2 separate regions of the Homo sapiens genome follow, and region 2 is linked to region 1. The links are contacts of gene promoters, found by promoter capture Hi-C in blood cells and fetal thymus (Javierre and others, 2016). All regions are on one chromosome and are shown on one strand. The core of a region is centred on a gene start or on the middle of the fragment in contact, and the rest is flanking DNA. Distances in the headings are between cores, read along the strand shown. Region 1 holds the start of GINS3 (GINS complex subunit 3). Region 2 overlaps KATNB1 (katanin regulatory subunit B1).

The links. The method cuts DNA at HindIII sites, captures the fragments that hold promoters and counts their contacts. A CHiCAGO score of 5 or more calls a contact.
Region 2: a contact is called between a fragment that was not itself captured here and the fragment with the promoter of GINS3 in region 1, in 8 of 17 cell types (activated CD4 T cells, total CD4 T cells, naive CD8 T cells and 5 more). The highest score is 11.7, in activated CD4 T cells.

Annotation. Positions count from the first base shown.
Region 1 is chr16:58,390,100-58,395,410 of GRCh38, forward strand. It overlaps GINS3 (GINS complex subunit 3), which reads left to right and starts at 2,372. Exons shown (of 3, transcript NM_022770.4): 1 at 2,372-2,688. The coding sequence starts at 2,503. RefSeq lists enhancers at 2,011-2,588, 2,195-2,684, 2,589-3,165, 5,194-5,311. The HindIII fragment of the contact is 2,062 bases long and covers 1,140-3,201 here.
Region 2 is chr16:57,737,590-57,742,900 of GRCh38, forward strand. It overlaps KATNB1 (katanin regulatory subunit B1), which reads left to right. Exons shown (of 20, transcript NM_005886.3): 3 at 4,098-4,228. Among named protein-coding and RNA genes, the nearest start is that of KATNB1, 4.5 kb to the left of the region's middle. The HindIII fragment of the contact is 6,249 bases long and covers 1-5,260 here.

The DNA.
Region 1 (5,311 bases), core at 1,122-3,621:
TTGTTTATTAGTTCAAGGAGAGGACAGTTTAAATAGAACAATATATACACAATGATAGTTTCATGATGAGCCAAGACATTAAGTAAGACAAACAAGGCAATCTGATTTTATGTTAAACATTGGCCTGTTACTGTATTATTAAAATAATAGTGGTATTTGAGTTTGGAGCCAGTATTGTGGTCTCTGTACAAAAATAATGCCTTTCTTTGGCATCAATAAATCAGTATGCATCTATCTTAATTATATCAGCATAAAAAATAGCTTACTCTCCTTGGCAGTAAATAACATTGCCTTCAATTAGCCAAATTATATTTCTGTCTCAAACTACATCCAGTACCATATATTCCATGTCATCAGAGAAATTCTAAATTATCACTGCAGATTGTGTTTATTTTTACATTGGACTGTATCACAAACTGAACATTTAAAATATGAAAAAGGAAAAAACCTTCATATAACTGCCTCTCAGTGTGCCTCCTCTCTAAAGCTTCTAGGCTGCTTTCTCCACTGGGCTGCAGACCTTCCTGTCTAGTAGCTCTTGGACACCATGTGTCCCAAACTGAACTCATCCCTTCCCTCCAGCTGCCCCTATTCCTGTGTTCTGTGTATCTATTCATGACATGTCCATCCACCTGGTCAGCCACGTTCAAAACTTGAATCTTTTGACTACTCACTATACTTCACTTCCTATATCCAATTGGTTGCCAAATACTGCCCACTGAACAGCTTCCAAGCATCTAATCTCTCTCTTCTTTATCTACTGCTGGAATTCTCTTCCTGAAGCCCAGATTTATGTTATTATTTGCCTTACATTTTCCTCCCATTTTCTATGGAATGGCCTAACTCCTTAGAATGGTACCAAGATTTTCCACAGTTTGGCCATTCCTTTCCACCCCACTGCACCTTGTTTTCATTGTCCTCAGAATTTCATTTATAAAGGTGACTGGGTGATGACAATCAATGAGTTAGTGGCCAATGCCTTTGAAAATTTTATTATAGTTCTCAAGAGAAGGGGCTGTGCCTACGGCCACACGAGAAAGTATTAGGGTCAATGAGGAGGTAGAGAGAGCGAGGAGAAAGCCCAGAGCCTTTATTGCCGTGGGAAGGAATGGGCGAAGCAGGGAAGGGAAGTCTGAACAAGCTTAGGATTGAATAATTTGAATAATGTTGGCAAGCTCTGGGATATAGAGGTGAATTTTAGTTGTCTGGTACTTGGCCATGGGGTGGTTTATTACAGTGACTTGGGGCAGGGAAAATATTGGTGTGTGAGATGGATAAAGATGGTGTGGGGATATAGGCTTGGGTTGGTTGGTTTGTAAATGAAAGGGGTGTTCACAAGCAAGTTGTTTGCTATCTCTAGGAATTAGCTAACTCTGAAAGGGGCAATTCCTCCCCAGGTCCCCAAGGCCCCAAGATGTCAAAGCATCATAAAATACAGAAAACAGAAACTAAAATCCATGGTTAATACACACCTCCCTTCACACACACCCTTTACTCCCGGCTCCAGTAGCCCCAGAAATGCTCTAGACGAAGTAAGTTCTGTAGTGCATCTCTCAACAATATGCCGCCACCCATAGCCCTGGCTGAGGAGAGCCACCAAACCTGGTACTATGCGACCATGGTCCTTCCCCTGGTCACTGGATAGTGATCGCACCCAACACAGGCACCCCCATCTACAGGGTGGCTGGAGATCTATGACCATTGTGGCGTACCTGGACCAATCAATAAACTGGACCAATTGGATTTCCATTTTTAGGGATTTAAATTCAGAGCCACAAAAGGAGATTGTCAGTTGATGATGAGCTAAGACACCCTGAAGTATACTCACAACCTTAGCAAGCCATGTGCAGTCTAGTGCTCCACCCCTCTACCCACCCCGTCCAACCCCCACCAAAATACTAACAAAATACAACACACTAGTTCATCATCTAGACCATAATAACTCGCTGGGGATAGTGCTGGAAGTTTTTGTTTGTTTAACATTTCTTTCAAATACTAAGATTAACGGAGTTGCATAGTGAAAAAAACTGTAGGAAAGGGTCGGACTTAGGCCTGGAGTGAAGGGCACAAGATGCTTTTATTTTAAACCCCTAAAAGTGTTGCAAAGTGTTTTTAATTTCATATAAATAGTTAAGGATCACATGAACACAATCCAGTACAAATGGGTCCAGGAGCTTCAACGAGCGTTCCAGCTTCTTCGTAACGTTCCCACACCGTGCAGCAAGCGGAGGGAAGAGAACTTCCGGCGCCCCCACCTACCGCTCCCCAGCCGTGTCCCGCTGCTCTAAATCTGCAGACTTGATCGATTGCTTCTGCCTGGGCGGTACCGCCCGAATTGACTGCTCCTGTCTGATGCGTCCCCGGGCGCGGGAAACGAGTTTCAATCCACTTTCCTGACCCCAACCATCCTGCCCAGTCTCCGCTTCCCCGTCTTGTACACCCCTAACTCCTGAGGCTCCTCCGAATCACGCGAGTGGAAGCGGAGAAGCTCAAGTGGCCGCCATGTCAGAGGCTTATTTCCGAGTGGAGTCGGGTGCGCTGGGGCCTGAGGAGAACTTTCTTTCTTTGGACGACATCCTGATGTCCCACGAGAAGCTGCCGGTGCGCACGGAGACCGCCATGCCTCGCCTTGGCGCTTTCTTCCTGGAGCGGAGCGCAGGCGCCGAGACTGACAACGCGGTCCCACAGGTGAGCCTTTGGGTGCGGGGTCCTGCCCGGAAAGACTGCAGCTCCCGGCGGGCCCCTCGGCCCTGGGACGCCGCATCGGGGCGCGCTGCCCTTTGGGATTTGTAGTTTTCGAGGAGCCAGGGCCGAAGGCGCTAACGACTTCTCGGAAACTCCGCGGGGGTCCCTTCGCGCTCGGGGTGGTCTCCAGACTTCTTGTTCGCCATCTGTGGTGAAACTACATTTATCCTAGGTCGCCAGGCAGCCTCCAACATTGATTTCTTTTTTGAAACTGTCCAAATTAGTGTCTTCCCCCTACCCCATGCAACGTGTGTTGAATGCTTAAAGATTGGCTCCAGCTGAATACTTAAGAATTAGAGTTCTGATCATGTTTGCCTTAAAACAGCTTTGGGTTCTGTAAGAGCATGTGATAAGTAGGAACCCCAAGTTGCTAAATTCATTCCTCCATAATGATGACAGGATCAGTAAGCCCTACTGAGGCTTACTTAGTGGCAGCATGGTTGGGTGTGGGGAGTAAGCTTTTCCCTTTAATCCTTCAGCAACCAGAAAGGCTGGGTCACTTGGCCAGGGCTTCAGTTAGTGGTGAGCTGGGATTCGGAACCCAAGGCCATATGGCTTCAAATATAAAATTGTCCCAGGAACATGGCTTGTAATGATTAATTTGGATATCCTGTTTCACCTAAGTTTTGTATAGAACGATGTTTATTGTTTGGTCTGTTTGTTTCAAGTTAATTTTTATCAAAGTAATACATAACCAACGTTTTAAAAGTCAAATAGGCCGGATGCGGTGGCTCACGCCTGTAATCCCAGCACTTTGGGAGGCTGAGGCGGGCGGATCACGAGGTCAAGAGATCCAGACCATCCTGGCCAACATGGTGAAACCCCATCTCTACTAGAAAGCTGGGTGTGGTGGCCGGCGCCTGTAATCTCAGCTACTCTGGAGGCTGAGGCAGGAGAATTTCTTGAACCCAGGAGGCAGAGGTTGCAGTGAGCCGAGACTGTGCCACTGCACTCCAGCCTGGCGACAGAGTGAGACTCCATCTCAAAAAAAAAAAAAAAAAAAGTCAAATAGTACCAAAAGATTTATAAGAAAAAAAATAGCAGGTCCTGCCTTCCTTTTCCCACTTCCCCCTCCAAGTCCACAGGGCTCATGTACCTTTTTTAGTGGTGTCTTCAAGATTCATCTTCATATTTCTAAATAATATTCTTAAACTTACCTTGTTGGGTTGTTTTTTTTAATGTAGACATTATCTGTTGACTTCATCCTAGCAGATGAGGATTTCGTTCCCATACACACTGGTAAACATGGCGCTATGCTGCCCATACTTAATTCATATTTCCTTAGTTTTTAGTTAATGCCCTTTTTCTATTCTAGGATTCCACCTAGGATACCACACTGCATTTAGTAGACATGTTTCCTTAGCCTTCTCTTGGTTGTGACAATTAATCAGACCTCCTTGTTCTAATGACCTCGACGGTTTTGTGGAGTGGTGGTCAGGTATTTTGTAAAATGTTCCTCAGTTGGAAATCTTTGGTTTGGGGGTAGTTTTGTTTTTGGTTTTGTTTTTTTGTTTGTTTTTTTGACACGGAGTTACCCTGTCATCTAGGCCAGAGTGCAGTGGCATAATCTCAGCTCACTGCAGCCTCCTCCACCTCCTGGGTTCAAGCAATTCTGCCTCAGCCTCCCAAGTAGCTGAGATTACAGGCGCCCACCACCACACCCAGCCAATTTTTGTATTTTTAGTAGAGATGAGGTTTCACCAGGTTGGCCAGGCTGGTCTGGAACTCCTGACTTCAAGTGATCCACCCAACTCAGCCTCCCAAAGTACTGGGATTACAGGCGTAAGCCACCTCGCCCAGCCTTCTTTGTTTTTGTTTTTTATTCTTTTTTTCTCAGCATTAGACTTGATTATCAGCTTTAGGGAGGAAGACCACAGAGGTAAAGTGCCATTTTCATCACATATTAAGGGTGCCTACTATCAACAGGACTTTGTACTGTTCATTTGAACCTTGGCAGAGGTAATGTTCATTAGGTTTCTCCACCTTTTCATACTGTACTCTTTGGATGGAAGTCATTATCACTGTCACACTGAAGGAGTAGGGAGTTATGTTCCACTTCTTTGAGTGCAGAGTGTCTACATTAAATCTTTAGAATCCTTCTGCATGGGAGATTTGTGTAGGAAGGTTTGTATGACATTTAATTTCATTTATAGGATTATTCAGACTTGATTTCTTCTTGTGTTAGTTTTGGTATATTTGGTTTTTAACTAAAACTTTGACCATTTTATCTAATTTTTTTTTTTTTTTTTTGAGACAGGGTTTTGCTCTGTTGCCCAGGCTGGAGTGCAGTGGTGTGATATGGCTCACTGCAGCCTTGACCTCCCAGGCTCCAGAGATCCTCCCACCTCAGCCACCTATGTGGCTGGTATTGCAGGTACATGCCACCATGTCCAGCTAATTTTTGTATTTTTTTTTTGTCTAAATTTTCTTTTTTTTTTTTTTCTATTTGTACATTTGAAATTCTTCTGTAATATTTGTATATATATATATATATTTTTTTTTTAATTGATCATTCTTGGGTGTTTCTCGCAAAGGGGGATTTGGCAGGGTCACAGGACAATAGTGG
Region 2 (5,311 bases), core at 886-3,385, 650 kb before region 1:
TTCCAGTTAGGCTGACAGTGGGGTGAGAAATCCTGAAAGATGTTCACAGCATTCTCAGACATCTCACAAGTCAAACTTCCCCAGTCAGATAAAAGCATCTTGGGCCTGGGATGGGGGAAGGAGTGGGAGCGAGGAGGGGCGGGCAGAGGGATGCAGACAGGGCTCGGATTGTAACTGATGGGCACTGTCCACTCCCACCATTGCCCTATACAAGTGGATCTGGACTCTTTCATCTGAAGACTTCATACTTTAAGAATTATTGAGGACCCCAGAGTGCTTTTGTTTGTTGGAGTTATATATCTGTCAGTATTTACCACGTTAGAAGTTAATACTGAGACATTTTCAAACAAGAGTATATAATCAAATAGGCCTCTAGTGATGTTCTGGGAAACTCCACCATATGCTTGAGAGCAAATGAGAGTGCAAAAGGCAGATGCCATCTTAGTGTTATTGTGAAAATCCTTTTGTCTTCTCAGACCCCCCGAAAGGATCTTGAGGATCCCAAGCATCCCCAGATCATATTTTGAGAATTCCCCTACACATTGGCACCTTGGTGGGCCCTGCCCCACCTATTGTAACTGGTTGGCATAGCTTTTGTGTGCTCCACCTGGTCACTGTCTGCTGCCAGCTGTCCCTGGGCTGGTTTTCAGGAGCTGGGACAAGACTCCACACTTTTTTTTTTTTTTGAGACAGAGTCTCACTGTCACCCAGGCTGGAGTACAGTGGTGCAATCTCAGCTCACTGCAACCTCTGCTTCCCGGGTTCATGCGATTCTCGTGCCTCAGCCTCCCGAGTAGCTGGGATCACAGGCACCCGCCACCACACCCGGCTAATTTTTGTATTTTTAGTAGAGACGGGGTTTCACCATGTTGGCCAGACTCGTCTCGAACCCCTGACCTCAGGTGATCCACGTGCCTCAGCCTCCCAAAGTGCTGGGATGACAGGCATGAGCCACCATGCCTGGCCAAGACTCCACACTTTTTAACCATGAATTTAACCATAAGACTCTGGGCAAAGCTCTTTGCAGGGCCTCTGTTTCCTTGTTTGTAAAGTGAGAGGTTTGGGCCATTTTCATGTTGTTCCCCAAAACTCTAGGGCTCTGGGAGAACCCTGTTATGGTTCCCCAAGGAAGGCACACTTTGGTCAGAGTGGCTTTGTAATTATTGGGATTACGTATTCATCCCTTCGACAGCTGGCCTTTCCCCAGAGCTAGGCACTGGGGAGCCACTGGGGGACAAAGTAGTCAAGGTCTCTGTACAGCGGGAGCTCAGAGCCTGGGGAGAGCAACAGGCAGGAACTGGATAACCGTATCCCTCTGTGTCTCCTCTAGTTGCAAGCTGGTGCCTGTGCTTTGAATCAGTTAGCTGGGGGGTAGGGGTAGGGGTGGGGTGGGAATGCTGCAGGCTGCATGAACAGCAAGTGCAAAGGCCCTGAGGCAGGAGGCTCAGTGTATTGGAAGGACTCAAGGGAGGCCATGGGCAGTGGCACAGCAGCAGGAGGAATGTGGGGCCGCACGGACCTACTGAGTTCTCAGGACCCCAGCCCTCCTGAGGCTGCCGTGCTTTATCATAAAGGCAAGGCCAAGCCATCAGTGTGTGCGAGCAGGAGGTAATGAGATCAGGCGTATTGGGCATCTGCTGCTGCTGCTGATTTCATGTGCACGGTGGTGTCCGTGGGAATCAACTCTGAAGAGCCCAGGGCCACGTGACCTCTGGCTCCTTGTGGCTCCAGGGTCTGGTGAGGATCAGAGGTGCGTGGCCCACATGAGGTCGTTGAAACCTAGTACTTTGTATCTTGCATTTGGGATGCTGATCCTCAGCCCCTCTGGCCACGCCGCACCATGTTCCCCAGCTTTGGCTGGATGTGGGGCCCAGGTTGTACTCCCAGAGCTTGGCCTGCCAGTAGACACTGAGGATTTTTATTTTTTATTTTTGGTATGAAAATCAAGTATTCGGCCTGGGCTGTTGGTTGCTGTCCAACAAGCCAGGATGAAGGAGGAGCTCTTGGGGTGGTGCCCCGTGCCTCCTTTGCAGGTGCCTGTGCTGTGTCCCTGCCCCTCTGCCCTCCCTCTGTGGGCTCCAGTCAGTCCCTGGTCAGGCTGCTTAGAGGGGAGTGATGTGGGCTCCTCCAGAAGGGCCCAACTTCTAAATCTTTCTCACTCCAAAGTCTGCGGTTTTGCCAGCTCAGTGTCCCGCCCCCACCACCATCTGATTATACTGGGGCATATTTCGTGCAAGGCCTAGAACAGGCACCCAGGAAATACTGATATTATGAATGAATGCCCCTGACTCCAGGGGCAGCAGTCCTGAGGCCCAGTGAGGTGGGGCCCAGCCAGACACTTTCCCTGGGAGGAGTGAGGGCCAGGGGACAGACAGAGCCCTCCAGGTAGGCCAGGGGGAGCGAGCAGTGCCTCCACGGAGAGGACACCAGGCTCGGGCACGGAATGCCAGGGAGAAGGTGCTTTGCCCTCTTTCTGGGTCAGGTGGAAACCTTGAACAGACACGTCTGTGGCTGGAATTCCTCAGGTTTCTGTCCCGACAGTGTCCAGAGGACAGAAGGCTCTCATCGAGACGGGACTAAAGTGGGGCCCAGCTCCCTGGGATCCCCATGGCGAACTCCCAGCGCCCTGGCCCAGGTTTGGGCCCACAGGGAACCCTCGCCCTTGCTGGCGCTGCTGCCTGTGCTGGCTCTGCCCCGACCGGCCCAGGAGGCAGGGTGTCATCAGTGAGATTCAGCCTGCGACTTGTCCCCTGGGTATTCCTGGTGGCCCCTTGGAGCCCAGGTTTCTGGCAAGCAGCTTCCCTGGGCCCAGTTTCCCAACCTCCTTGTGGTCTGAAGCCCGCAGCAGAGACACCCAGGCAGGGTGGAGTCGGAGCTGGGGTGCAGGAGGGGCCTCTGTGGAGCGCCGTGGCTCCAACACCCTTTTCCTTGGCGTCACCCACGCTGGCCTTCCGGGTGCCTCGGGGCGTCAGCACCTTGGGGTTTTCCCCTGGCCTGTGTGGGGAGAACTGTCTTTTTTCTCCCTTCTTTCCAGGAGGAGCTCATGCAGGGATGGGTTCTGAGGCCCGGGCCGCCTCTTGGTTCCCTGCCTGTGCTTTGCTCCCTGCGGAGTCCTCCGAGGCTCCTGTCTGCCATCTCCACGGACCAGGCCAGGGCCTTGGGCTGTCTGCACAGGCTCCTCCTCTGTGTGGTCAGCCCTCACCCCCACCCCAGCTGCTCAGTCTGTTGCCTCCTGCCCCCTCCTCATGAAGCCCACCCTCTGGTGCCCGCCCAGGCCCCCATGCCCACTCTCTCATGGTGACTAGCCCCGAGCCTGCCCAATGTCACGGAGCCCTCGCCTGCTACTAAGCAGCACGTAGGCGCGCTCTGAGGGAGTCCTCAGCATCAGGTGTGAGCAGACACCACGGGCATCCCCACTTTCCAGACGAGGAGCCAGGCCCTCAGAGGACAAGTGACCTAGTAGCCAAGGCCACGCAATAGCAGATCACAGACCTCAGACCAGAACCTGATCCGTGATTGTGAATCTGAGCCGAAGCCCTGTGCAGGCTTACCTGGGGGCAGCTTGTCTAGAGGTGACTTCGGTTGTTCTTAAAGTGTGTTCTCCAAAGCAGGGTTTGTATGTACACACAAGCAGCAGCTGAGAGGTGTGTAGGCAGTGCATGGGTCAATTTTTTTTATTTCAATAATTGTTTTTCTTTTTGTATCATAGAAAGAGTATCATGAGTATATCAAACTTGTAATTTCATGGACATTGCTTAAGCCCAAGCTAATAAAAATAGCAAGTCAATTTTAAAAATTGCGTATAACTAGTCAATATTACCAGGTGATATGCAGAAACAGGAAGAAAATCGTGAAGTCTAAAGGTAGGAAAGACAGGCATGATGAAAGTTGAGAAACAGTGATTTCCGTCTCAGGCCCATGCCCTGCCCTGTCTGCTGGTCCTGCAGCTCATGGTGGACACCAAAGGGGGAGCTGAAGGAGGCAGATCCTTCCACTGGGCTTCAGGTTCCAAAGCGGGTAGCCGAGCAGGGTCACCCCTCCTTCACAAGGCCCCATCGGGCCGCCCTGATGGCCTCTCCCTCTCCTTCCCTGTGTAGAAGAGATCGTCGCGCATGCCAGCAACGTGTCCTCACTGGTGCTGGGCAAAGCCTCCGGGCGGCTGCTGGCTACAGGCGGGGATGACTGCCGCGTCAACCTGTGGTCCATCAACAAGCCCAACTGCATCATGGTGAGCCCCGACAGCTGGCGGGGGGTCAGGACAAGGGCCTGGGGAGGGGACGGGGACAGGGGTTGGAGGCTGAAGAGTGAGCAGCTTCTCAGACTCTCTTGAGCCCAGGGCCCCCTATCCGCTGGGGCCCAGCTCAGGGGTGGAGGGGGCGTGGTGGGGACACCATCAGTGCTTCCCCCAGCTGTCTGCTCAGTGAGGCCCAGGACAGCCCAGCATGGCTGGGACAGTGGCCAGCCCTCAGGAGCGAGGGAGTCACCTGCCTGTGGTACTATTAAGAACTCCAGGCAGGCTGCGTGAGAAGATTAAAATAAGCCCTGGGCCTGTGGTTGAGCCAAAAGACTTGTACCCCTCCCCTCCCACCTGCCCATCTGCCTGCCTGGCAGCAACATGTGGGCGTTTATTTTAATTCATTCCCAGCCTTCATTCCCCAATGAGGATTTGAGGGGACCTGGCTGGAGCTGGTTAGGGAGCTAGTTCTTAAATAGCATCTCCCCACTATTTATGCAGCTATATGTTCAATGCTGGAAACTGTTTTCCAAATAGGAGTGCATAAAGGAGAAAACACAAAATTAACTACATATAGTTCCGTTATCCAAAGGCCACCACAGTTGGTGTTTTGGTGTGAGTCCTTCTAGATGCTGAGACAGATACATATACGTGTACATGCACGTAAGTGCACACTTGTACATGCATGTACACATGTATACACACAAATACTCATACAAGCACACACACATAAATAAAAATACACTGCCACTCTTGTGCAGCCTGGTTTTTAAAAATAACAATGTTGTAAGGATTTGCCTGTGTCAACAAGTATTCTTTTACAACATAATTTTGAATGGCTTAATGGTGTTCCATTGTAGGGATGAGCCGTAATTAGCTTAGCCACACCCTGTTATCAGCAGAGAGGTTGTTTCCGGCTTTTTTTGGCTCTGCTAAAGCACCCTGTGGTGAACATCCTCAGCCACCTAGATCCTTGAGCAGATCCGTGATCACTGCATTCAATCCAAGGGTGTGTGCTTTTGTTAAAGCTTTCAAAACAGATTGCCAAATTGCCCCCCAGAAATCATTTTACATTCT